2 separate regions of the Homo sapiens genome follow, and region 1 is linked to region 2. Evidence: promoter capture Hi-C in 16 types of primary human blood cells and fetal thymus (Javierre and others, 2016). All regions are on one chromosome and are shown on one strand. The core of a region is centred on a gene start or on the middle of the fragment in contact, and the rest is flanking DNA. Distances in the headings are between cores, read along the strand shown. Region 1 overlaps RABGAP1L (RAB GTPase activating protein 1 like). Region 2 holds the start of CACYBP (calcyclin binding protein).

Region 1 (5,018 bases), core at 1,224-3,723, 260 kb after region 2:
TCACCCAGGCTGGAGCATAGTAGTGCTATCATGGCTCACCACAGCCTCAACCTTCCAGGCTCAAGCAATCCTCCCACCTCAGCCTCCCAAGTAGCTGGGTCTATAGGCGCATGCCACCATGCCTGGCTAATTTTTCTACTTTTTTTTTTTTTTTTTTTTTTTTTGTAGAAATAGGCTTTTGCCATGTTGCCCAGGCTGGTCTCAAACTCCCCACTTAAAAAAAAAATCCTTAAAAATGCCACAACATGGTATAAAAGTAGCCACATAGACCAGTAGAACAAAACAGAGAACTCAGAAATAAAGACACATAGTTACAGCCAACTGATCTTCAACAAAGCCAACAAGAATTTATACTGGGGGCCGGGTACAGTGGCTCACACCTGTAATCCCAACACTTTGGAAGGCTGAGGCAGGAGGATTGCTTGAACCCAGGAGTTCAAAACCAGCCTAGGCAACAGAGTGAGACCCCATCTCTACAAAAAATAAAACACCAGTCAGGTGTGGCAGCAAATGCCTGTAGTCTGAGCTACTTGGGAGGGTGAGGCAGGGGGATCATCTGGGCCCATGAGGTTGAGGCCACAGTGAGCAGTGATCATGCCACTGCACTCCAGCCTGGGTGACAAGGCAAGACTCTGTCTCAAAAAAACACAAAAACAAACAACAAAAACTTACACTGGGGAAAGGACAATCTCTTCAATAAACGGTGCTGGGAAAATTGTATAGCCATGCAGAAGAATGTAACTGGACCATTATCTCACCATATACAAAAATGAACTCAAAGTAGATTAAAGACTTAAAAGTAAAACCTGATACTATAGAAATATTAGAAGAAAAAATCTAGGGAACCCTCTCCTGGTTGTTGGTTTAGGCAAAGAATTTGTTACAAAGGCCTCAAAAGATCAGGCAACAAAACCAAAAATAAGTGATTGGGAATTAATTAAACTAAAAAGCTCCCACACACAAAAAAAAAAAAACAAAACAAAAAAATCAACAGAGTGAAGAGACAACCTGCAGAATGGGATAAAATATTTGCAAATTATTTATCCAACAGGAACTAATATATAGAACAGATAAGGAACTCAACTCAACAGGAAAAAAACAAATAATCCCATTCATACTTGGGCAAAGTATATGAATAGCCATTTCTCAAAAAAATAAATACAAACAGCCAACAGGTATATGAAAAAATGTTCAACCTCATGAATCATCAGAGAAATGCAAATCAAAACCACAATGAGATAGCATACCTCAGCCAGAATCCCTATTATTAAAAAAGACAGATGTTGACAAGAAAGTGGAGAAAAGGGAACTCATATACACTGTTGGTGGGAATGTAAACTAGTACAGCCACTATGGAAAACAGTATGGAGATTTCTCAAAAAAATAAAAATATAATTACCATTTGATCCAGCAATGCCACTACTGGGAATCGACTCAAAGAAAAAGAAGTCAATATATCAAAGAACTCACATATATACAGTTAGGAGGCTTTAAAACACTCAAGAAGTGGTATGTAATTTTGCCTGGAAACAGCTGATGAATTGAGCAAGAGGCTGTACCGAGACTGACACACCAGGAAATGCTATGCATAGTAAACTTTCATCCCTCCAAGGGGTGAAGTCCTAGGTTTATATCATGTTGGGAAACCAGTAATGAGTGTATTCATCTTTGGGGACCCTTTCTCTTCTGTCCTCATCCATTTATATATAGGTAAATGTTAGTGAAGCTTAAACACTAGGGAAAGCAGAGACAGAAGTGATTTAAGAGAATAACATTGAAAAAGAGTACACAAGAGAGGGTTTGTAAAGTTATATAAACGACTCCACTGCTACCAACCATGTCTCTATGAAGATGTAAGAAGGATGTTACTAATTATAGGAACTCACAATTTTAAAAAATCACCAGCAGGAGCAACTCCACCCTTTCCTCTACCTTTTCCCCCTATCACCTAGAGACACTAGCAGCCTGGTACACATAAAAATACAGAGTGAACTTTAAGAATCATAATAATATACCCTGAGGATCGCTAAGGAGCCTAAGTTTCTTTCTGCCACAGGGGATCTAGCATCTTTCTGCCAAGAAGTACAAAAGACTAAACATACCACTTCACAGTAGTATATTGCGTAGTAAATCTTAATTGCTATGCCACCATCTGTATAACACTTTACTGCAAAGCACTTTTGAGTATATAGTTTCATTCAACTGTAAAAATATTAATCCGGCATATAGGCCATTATTAATTACCTCCATTTTACAATGCAAGCTTAAATATGTTAGATGATTTACCTGAGTTCACAGAATTAAGACTGGAATGACAAGTTTCCTGATTATAATTCAGTTCTCTTTCCATTAGACCATTGGCTCTCAACCATGGCTGCTTATTAAAATCACCTGGGGAGCTTTCATAACACACAGAGGCAGGAGATCCATCTTAGGTCAAATAAATAGAAATTTCTCAGGAGTAGAATGTGGTCACTTGTATTTTTAAGAACTTCCAGGAGTTTCTAGTATGAAACCAGACTGAGAACTGAGCATTACCAAGTTTTCAAGCAATCATGATAATTTAAGAGCATAGTTTTCCTATTTGCACTTATCCATCTATACATCAGGGATATGTAAAATCTACAACTTCTAACCAGTGAATCATAATTATCAACTTTTTTAGAAAGCACAAATAAGCTTCTAGTATATTTTCAGTTAAGTAATTTATCTAGCAAACCATTTTCTATTAGTAATTAGCTTTTATGGAACAAAATATCCACAACTTTGGGTACTAAAAGTATATCTAGTCATATTTAACTGTAAAATTTATTTAAACCGTAAAATGGATGAGAGTGCTTGTTCCTTTATTAGGAGCCAAGCAAGAGAAAGGTACCTATCTAATGGAGGCAGATAATTAAATCACTCATGCTGAAAGTTCTTTCCCAAGTAACCCTGTCCTCACATCAAGCAGTTATACTAGAAATCACAGATCTTCCTGCCATAGTGAGGAGGAGATGTCTCCATTTAAAAAAAGATGGAAGAATTAGTTTAGTTAATTGCTCTGAGATCTACTAAATGACAAAACAAAAACAATTTAAAAGTGAGAGCTACAAGGCAAAGAGACCTAATTAGCAAAGAAAATTGTAGCAACAGTAATATAGCGGTTGCTGCAAAAATTTTACAATTATGGGGAAAGGCTCTATAAGCCCTGTGAAATTCATTCCCATTTAAACATAGTATATTGAACCTAATATTAAACGGTCTGCAAGTTCACAATAGAAGTTCATTAATACTATACTATAAATCAAAAGCTTTAGAGCAGGAGTTAGAAGATCCATATCACAGTTTCATTTCTGCCACCAACTAGCTTAGTTAAGTGTCTCAACCTCCCCCATGTGTAAGATTCCTAAACAGTAAATTGAGGAGTACCAGTTAAGAATAACAAAAGAGATTTGTTAAAAGTTCAGATTCCTGGATCCCACCCTGGATAATTCTGATTCATTAAGTCTAAGACGGGTATTAACATCTACTGTATTTTAGTGCCACCCACCCCACTCTGCAGACCCTAGAAACCACTGATTTCTATATATTTTACAAGGTAAGAGAAGTCAAATAAGAAAAATGTAGAAATACTGGTATAGGTCAACTGAGGAGGGCCTTATACAAGTAGGCCTGAATTCCAATTCCTTATTCCACCATTCCTGCTTCTACCCCTGAAATTCATCGCAGCAAAACTGCTGGGGGGAAATAACCAGTGAAGTGTCTTTCTGATTACTTCCTGAGTGTCTTCCTATTTCTCTAACTGGGATTTAATTTCCCAGGCGCCTTGTGGCAGGGACCCCATTTCTTTCTCTCAGATGGCCAACTGACCAGGACAGCTCAGTTCAAGGTAATCTCCTCCTTGAAACATCTCCTAACTTCCAATCCCATTAAAGAGATGTATTAATGTCAGCCCATGATGCCACCAAACATGGTGGGGATTTCTGTCCCTTCCAAATCTTATGTCAAAATGTTATCCCCAACATTGAAGGGGGGACCTGGTGGGAGGTGTCTGGATCATGGAGGTGGTTCCCTCATGAATGCCTTAGCACCTTCCCCTTGGTGATGAGTGAATTCTGGCTCTGGTAGTTCACACAAGATCTGGTTGTTTAAAAGTGTGTGGCACATCCCCCATCTCTCTCTTGGTCCCGCTCTTTCCATGTGATATGCTGGTTCTCCTTCACCTTCTGCCATGATTGTAAGCTTCCTGAGGTTCTCACCAGGAGTTGAACAGATGTTGGTGCCATGCCTGTACAGCTTGCAGAAACATGGGCCAAATTAAACCCCTTTCTTTGAAAATTACACAAAGTCTCAGGTGTTTCTTTACAGATGTGCAAAAATGGTGTAACATAAAAATTGGTACCAAGGAGTGAGGGGTTGCTATTAATACCTGAAGATGTGGGAAGCAGCTTTGGAATTGGGTAACAGGTAGAGGTTGGAAGAGTTTGGAGGGCTCAGAGAAAGAAAGGAAGATGTGGGAAAGTTTGGAACTTCTTAGAGACTTGTTAGGTGATTGTGGCCACAATGCTGATAGAAATATGGACAGTGAAGGCCAGGCTGAGGATGTCTCAGATGAAAATGAGGAATTTATTAGGAACTGGAGCAAAGGTCACCCTTGTTATTCCCTACCAAATAACTTGGCTGCATCGTGTCTGAGTCCTAGGGATTTGTGGAAGTTTGAACTTAATGATAACAGGGTATCTGGTGGAAAAATTTTCTAAGCAGCAAAGTGTTCTAGAGGTAGTATGGCTGCTTCTAACAACCTACAATCAAATATGGGAGTAAGGAAATGACTTAAAACTGGAACCTATATTTAAAAGGGAAGCAGAACAAAGAAGTTTGGAAAGTTTGCAGTCTAATCATGTGGCAGAGCATGAAAAAGCATTTACAGGAGAGGAATTCAAGCAGGCTATGGAGCAACTACTTGCTAAAGAGAGTAGCATAACTAAAAGGGAGCCAAGTGCTAATATCCACGACAATGGGCAAAAGGCCTTGAA
Region 2 (5,227 bases), core at 627-3,126:
TTGCAGTGAGCCGAGATTGCGCCATTGCACTCCAGCCTGGGCGACAGAGCGAGACTCCGTCTCAAACAAAGAAGTGGAAATAAATGTCCATAAACGGATGAAAGGATAAACACAATGTGCCACATGCATATAATAGAATATTATTTAGCCATAAAGAGCATGTGTACTGATACACGCTACACCATGGATGAACTTGAAAATGTTAGTGCTAAGTTGAAGGAGCCAAAAAACAAAAGGCCACATACAGCGTGACTCCATTTATATGAAATGCCTACAATAGGCAAATTCACAGAAAGTACAAGATGAGTAGTTGTCAGGGGCTGAGGGAGGAATGGGAAGCAATTGTTTAAAACACACTACATGGTTTCTTTCTGGAGTGATGAAAATGTCCTGAAACTAGACAGTGGTGATGGCTGCACTACACTGTGAATATATTTAAACAAAAAACAAATACCTGAATTGTACACTTTAAAATGGTTAAAAACTTGAATTTTATCTCAAACAAAACAAAAATCAAGTGCCCTCAAATGTATATTTCTAAGTGCCTAAACTGAGAACGATCTCTACTTTCAAGAGGACTAACACTGAGCTATCCACCTGCAAGACTGTGAAGTTATCTCCTAGGGGCACATAGTACCCAAGACCTACCTTAAAAGACTTGTCACAAGATACCCAGATTAATACTGGAACACACAAACCTCATAGTTTTTCTTCATTTAAAGAAAAGATTTTGAGTTTAAAAAACAAAAACAAAACAAAACAAAAGCTTGGGACTCCCCAGTACTTGTTTTCATAAAGCAAATCTAGTTAATACACACCCAACACTTAACTGTGAATAACTGTCCCGTCTTCACCTCCCACTTACGCCAGGAAATGAGCAATACAAGTACTATCATTCCCATTTTCTAACTGAGCAAACTAAGTCTCCACAAAATTTAATTCTCCAACGTTCAGAGTTTACAGAGCTTTAACACAGGCCATTCGCTTTCTTACTATTAATTACAACTAACTTTCCAAGTTATTTATTTTAAAAATCACATACAGCAGATTGCTGTTTGCCAATCACTGACTTAAACACCTAGAAATCATATTTTTTAACAACCCTATGAAATGGATGCTACTGCGACACAGAGAAGCTAAACAACTTGCCCAGAGTAACACAGCTCCTCGTGTGTAGAGAAAACCTGACTAGGAGAATTCAAGTGCTAGCACTGAGAACTCACCTTCCAACCGCCCTCTACCAAGAACGACACTCATGTTTGCACCCAGCTTTGCTTGAATGAAGCTTCCTGTCCACTGGCTGGGAAACCAGGGCAGAAAGGGCCTGAGGAACACGCGCAAAGGGCCGCTCTCCCAGACCCACTCCCCGCACCGCCTGCACGGATAATCGCCGCACACCCCCGCTCGAGCCCAGCAGGCGAGTGGGGTGCGAGGTCGAGTGGAAGCGCTGGGGAGCCGACGGCGCAGCAAGGGGCGAGTGAGGTGTCCCCCGGGAAGGCGGCGCACTGACTGGCGCGGGACCGGGTGGCCGCAGGGCGGCTCAGCCCACGGAAACGGCGGTAGGGCGGGAGGCTGGCGCTGCAGCTCCAGCCGGGGGGCATAAGGAATATGGGGCCGGACCACTTACCTCTTCTGAAGCCATGGGGGCTGGGTCAGGCCGAAGTCCCGAGCTGCAGCCGCGCAGAAGGAGGAACAGGAAACCCCGCGCCGAGCCCTCAAACCGAGCGCAGACGCCTACCCGCACGAGTCGCGGCGCTGCAGCCTGCGCCCACACCGACCCTGCGCAAGATCGCGGCCCGCCTCCCGCACGCGACGGATCTCGAACCTTCGCGAGGCAGCCGCCGCCACCGCCCACCGCGAGCACGCACAGCCCGCCAAGCCTGGCTCCACCCACCCTTCCTCGCCTCGCCGAGCCTAGCCCCACCCCTCCCCGCCCCGCCGAGTCTGGCTCCGCCCGCCTGCCGAATCTCCTAGCAACGCTCAAGTCTCGCGAGCGAACCGGCAATCCGAGAAGAGTAATGTCTTGCTCTCCGCCCTGACAACTTTTATGTATTATAATTTGACCGCGCTGGGCCACGCTGCGCAGTCGCAGCTCGGAACCGCTGCGTTAACCCAGCCCCGGAAATAACGTACCGATCTTCGGAGTCCAAGTCGGAAGTTGACTAGAGAGTCACCTGCTTTCGTCCGCTCTAGGACACCAGACACACCAGGCCGCCATGTTGTGTAAGGTTAGTCTCTCAGCCTCCGCGAGAAGAAGGCGAAAAATGGGGAGGAGCAGCCTGGTTACTTTCAAACGAGAAAGAACGGATATGTTAAGCGTGGAGGGCTCCTAATGGTAGCGGTTTGATTTTCAGTGAGTTTGGCGCGGTGGAGACGTCACCGCGGTCTAACAGTTCCGACGTGGTGGCGTCATCACTGGCCGCCGTAGGAGGTGGAGCTACGTTGGCCTCGTGACCGGGCCCTGTAGCGGAAGCCCAGGTCAAGGCCCTAACAAAAGGGCCCGCCTATGGCCACAGTTTCAGGCCCTCCTTTCAGTCATGGACTGTTGAAGCACGATTTCCTGGTGCTTTCGCCCCTTTCACCGACCATTTCAAGAGTCCGTAGTTCTCGCCTGGGTTTGGATTCGGTATAAGTGAGCCTGTTTACCATCAAAGAAAATGGTGAAATGTCTTCTGGAGACGATGTTCTCTTCTGGTTCTAACCCTGTCACTCAGTGAGACCCCCAGAGAAGCCTAGTTTTCAGATTATTCTAGTCCTTGGCAGGCTCAAGATGTCAACAACACGGTTGGAAACAACCCCTGAGAGGTCACATAGCGCGCACTCAGCTTTACAGATCGTCCAAGGCAGCGACCCCTGAGAGGTCACATAGCGCGCACTCAGCTTTATAGATCGTCCAAGGCAGCAATTAGAATCAGCAACTCGGAGAGGAAAAAAAGCTGTTAGCGGAATGGAGGCTGACCATTATCTGTAGTAAAGAATCGGAAGTACAGTACAAAAATAAATTACCGAAACGCAACATGCGTGAATTTCACACAAAAAAATGAAGTTGAGGGAAAGAAGCCAGACATGGAAGAGTTCATATTGCGTGGTTCCATTTAAAAACTAGCCCATGGTGTTAATGAGCATAGTGGGGAGGACAATGACATGAAAGAGCCACCAGGGGGCTTTTGAGGTTCAGGTAATGTTTCTTGATTTGGACACTGATTATAGATAGGTGGGTTCACTTTAGAAATCTCATTGAGTTGTAAACGTATATTTATGTACGTAGTTTTTTCTGTAGATTATGCTTAAGGCCCGGCGAAGGGGAATTTGCCCAGGTAATGGAAATATTACACCGATACATAGAATTGTCAAAGTTCATGGGATGAACTCCTAAGAGCTGTGTATTTTATCGTATAAATTTTTTTAAGTGTCCAACCAATAGCCTGGAATTATTAAGTACATAATTAAATAAAAACAAATATCCCATGGACCTAATGCAGTGAACAGTTACCTCGTTCTCTTAATTGCTCAGGCTAAGGACTCATACCTGAGTCTTCTATCTCAGGCCTTACATCTTATATAACAAGCCTTACTGGCTTAATCTTCAAAATATGTAGCGAATTTAACGAGTTCTCACAACCTCTGCTTCTACCACCTGACGGGGTTTGGGACATGCTACCCAAAAATATGGCACCTAGACATATTGAATACTTTGAACTGAAGGAATTTGAGAAAGAACATATGCAGGAATGTCTCTAACTTTCTTGCACCTTTCTGCTCTGAAGCAGGACGTAATACCCTCATGTGAGAATTGCCCTGTCTATACCTGGAATAAAAGTAACATCTTTATCTCTGAAAACACAGGGACGTAGAGACGAATATGAACATCAGGCCTTGCTAAGTTTCCCCCAGTTTATTACCCTTAGATCACAGTCTTTTAGCCCCATCACATTTTCCCACAATTCTCCATTCTTCTTCAAACCTACTCTAAACAACACTAAGGTTAACTATTTATTCGGGTCTTCATTTCTTTATGAAGTTTCCATGTTATGTAAAACTAACATTAATATTTATGCTTTTCTCTTGTTAATTTGTCTTTTGTTACAGGATCCCCAGCCAGTGAGCCTAAAATGGGTAGAAGGAAAAGATATTTCTTACCCTACGCACCCAGGTCCAAGTCATCATTATTTTGTCTGAAATTTATCTTCCTAACTGATTTCTCTGCTTCCCCATTGTGCCTTAAGAGTTAGTTTTCCACAGAGCAGCTCGAGATATCTTTTCAGATCATTATATCCCTTTGCTTAAAAACCTCTAACAGCTTCCTATTAGGCTTAGAATAAAGTACAAACTCCTTAATGTGAACTTGAGTGTTTTACGTATCTTATCTCACCTTTATGAGCTTCATGTCAGAACCCATCTCTCACCACTCTTCCTTCCCCGCTCCCTGATTTAAACAGTCTGGCACTTTACTTATTCATTGAACCCACTGGGTTTGCTCTTGCCTCCAAGTCTGTACCCAGCTTTCTCTCTACCTGTAATCCTCTTCCTCTAGGTCATCACACAGATCGTTTCTTCACTCTATTTAGGTCTTTCAGAAGTAACACTAAGGGAGGCTTTTCCAGACAATATTATGCAAATATAAATGGACATGTGACAAATACTTTATTCGACTTATTAGTTACTGAGAGTGTATTTGAGTAGCCAGGTATTTATAGGCAATTTAACAATGTAATGTTAGTATAAGGTGGCAAGGTTAGATATAAACCTGTTAATGTCTCACAGGGTAATAAACTATAACTTTTGGTGTTATCTGTTCCACTGGAAAGGAAGTAGGGATTTGCATTCTTACTGGACAAAAATCTACAAGTTAATGTATAGATTCAGTATAGGACTTTTAAATCAATAGTGAACGATGAAATGAACAAAGTACAATCCCCTAGTCCTTGGTTTGACACTGAAAGGACATGCCACTCACCTTTTTGCCTTGTTTCCAAAGTTTGGAATAATTTTCCTTTCAAAATGAAATTATTTCTCATTCAGTTGTCCTATTGCAGGCAGCCTTTACTGCTTCCCCCAGTTAATGTACCTGTCAAGCTTACTCATGATTTCCTAACTGCCAAATTCAATGGATATTTTTAATTTTTTTTTTGCTATGACTCATACTGTTCCCTTCGGGCTTGTCAGCAGATAAATGACCTTCTGGGGACTGTGCAAAATATGGAATGCTTAATGAATTTGTGTGTTA

What was found. Contacts are between HindIII fragments. The CHiCAGO score rates a contact against its expected background, and 5 or more counts as called.
Region 1: a fragment that was not itself captured here is called in contact with the fragment with the promoter of CACYBP in region 2 in 2 of 17 cell types (total CD8 T cells and fetal thymus); the score reaches 6.2 in total CD8 T cells.

What each region holds. Positions count from the first base shown.
Region 1 is chr1:174,737,002-174,742,019 of GRCh38, reverse strand. All of the region lies in intron 17 of RABGAP1L (RAB GTPase activating protein 1 like), which reads right to left. Among named protein-coding and RNA genes, the nearest start is that of RABGAP1L-AS1, 210 kb to the left of the region's middle. The HindIII fragment of the contact is 416 bases long and covers 2,266-2,681 here.
Region 2 is chr1:174,996,596-175,001,822 of GRCh38, reverse strand. CACYBP (calcyclin binding protein) reads right to left here and starts at 1,876. Exons shown (of 6, transcript NM_014412.3): 1 at 1,628-1,876. The coding sequence starts at 1,642. It overlaps LOC105371622 (a long non-coding RNA gene), which reads left to right and starts at 2,177. Exons shown (of 2, transcript NR_188647.1): 1 at 2,177-2,228; 2 at 4,090-4,344. It also overlaps the pseudogene RNU6-307P. RefSeq lists a silencer at 1,856-1,975 and enhancers at 2,006-2,515, 2,067-2,603, 2,546-2,755. The HindIII fragment of the contact is 3,791 bases long and covers 1,288-5,078 here.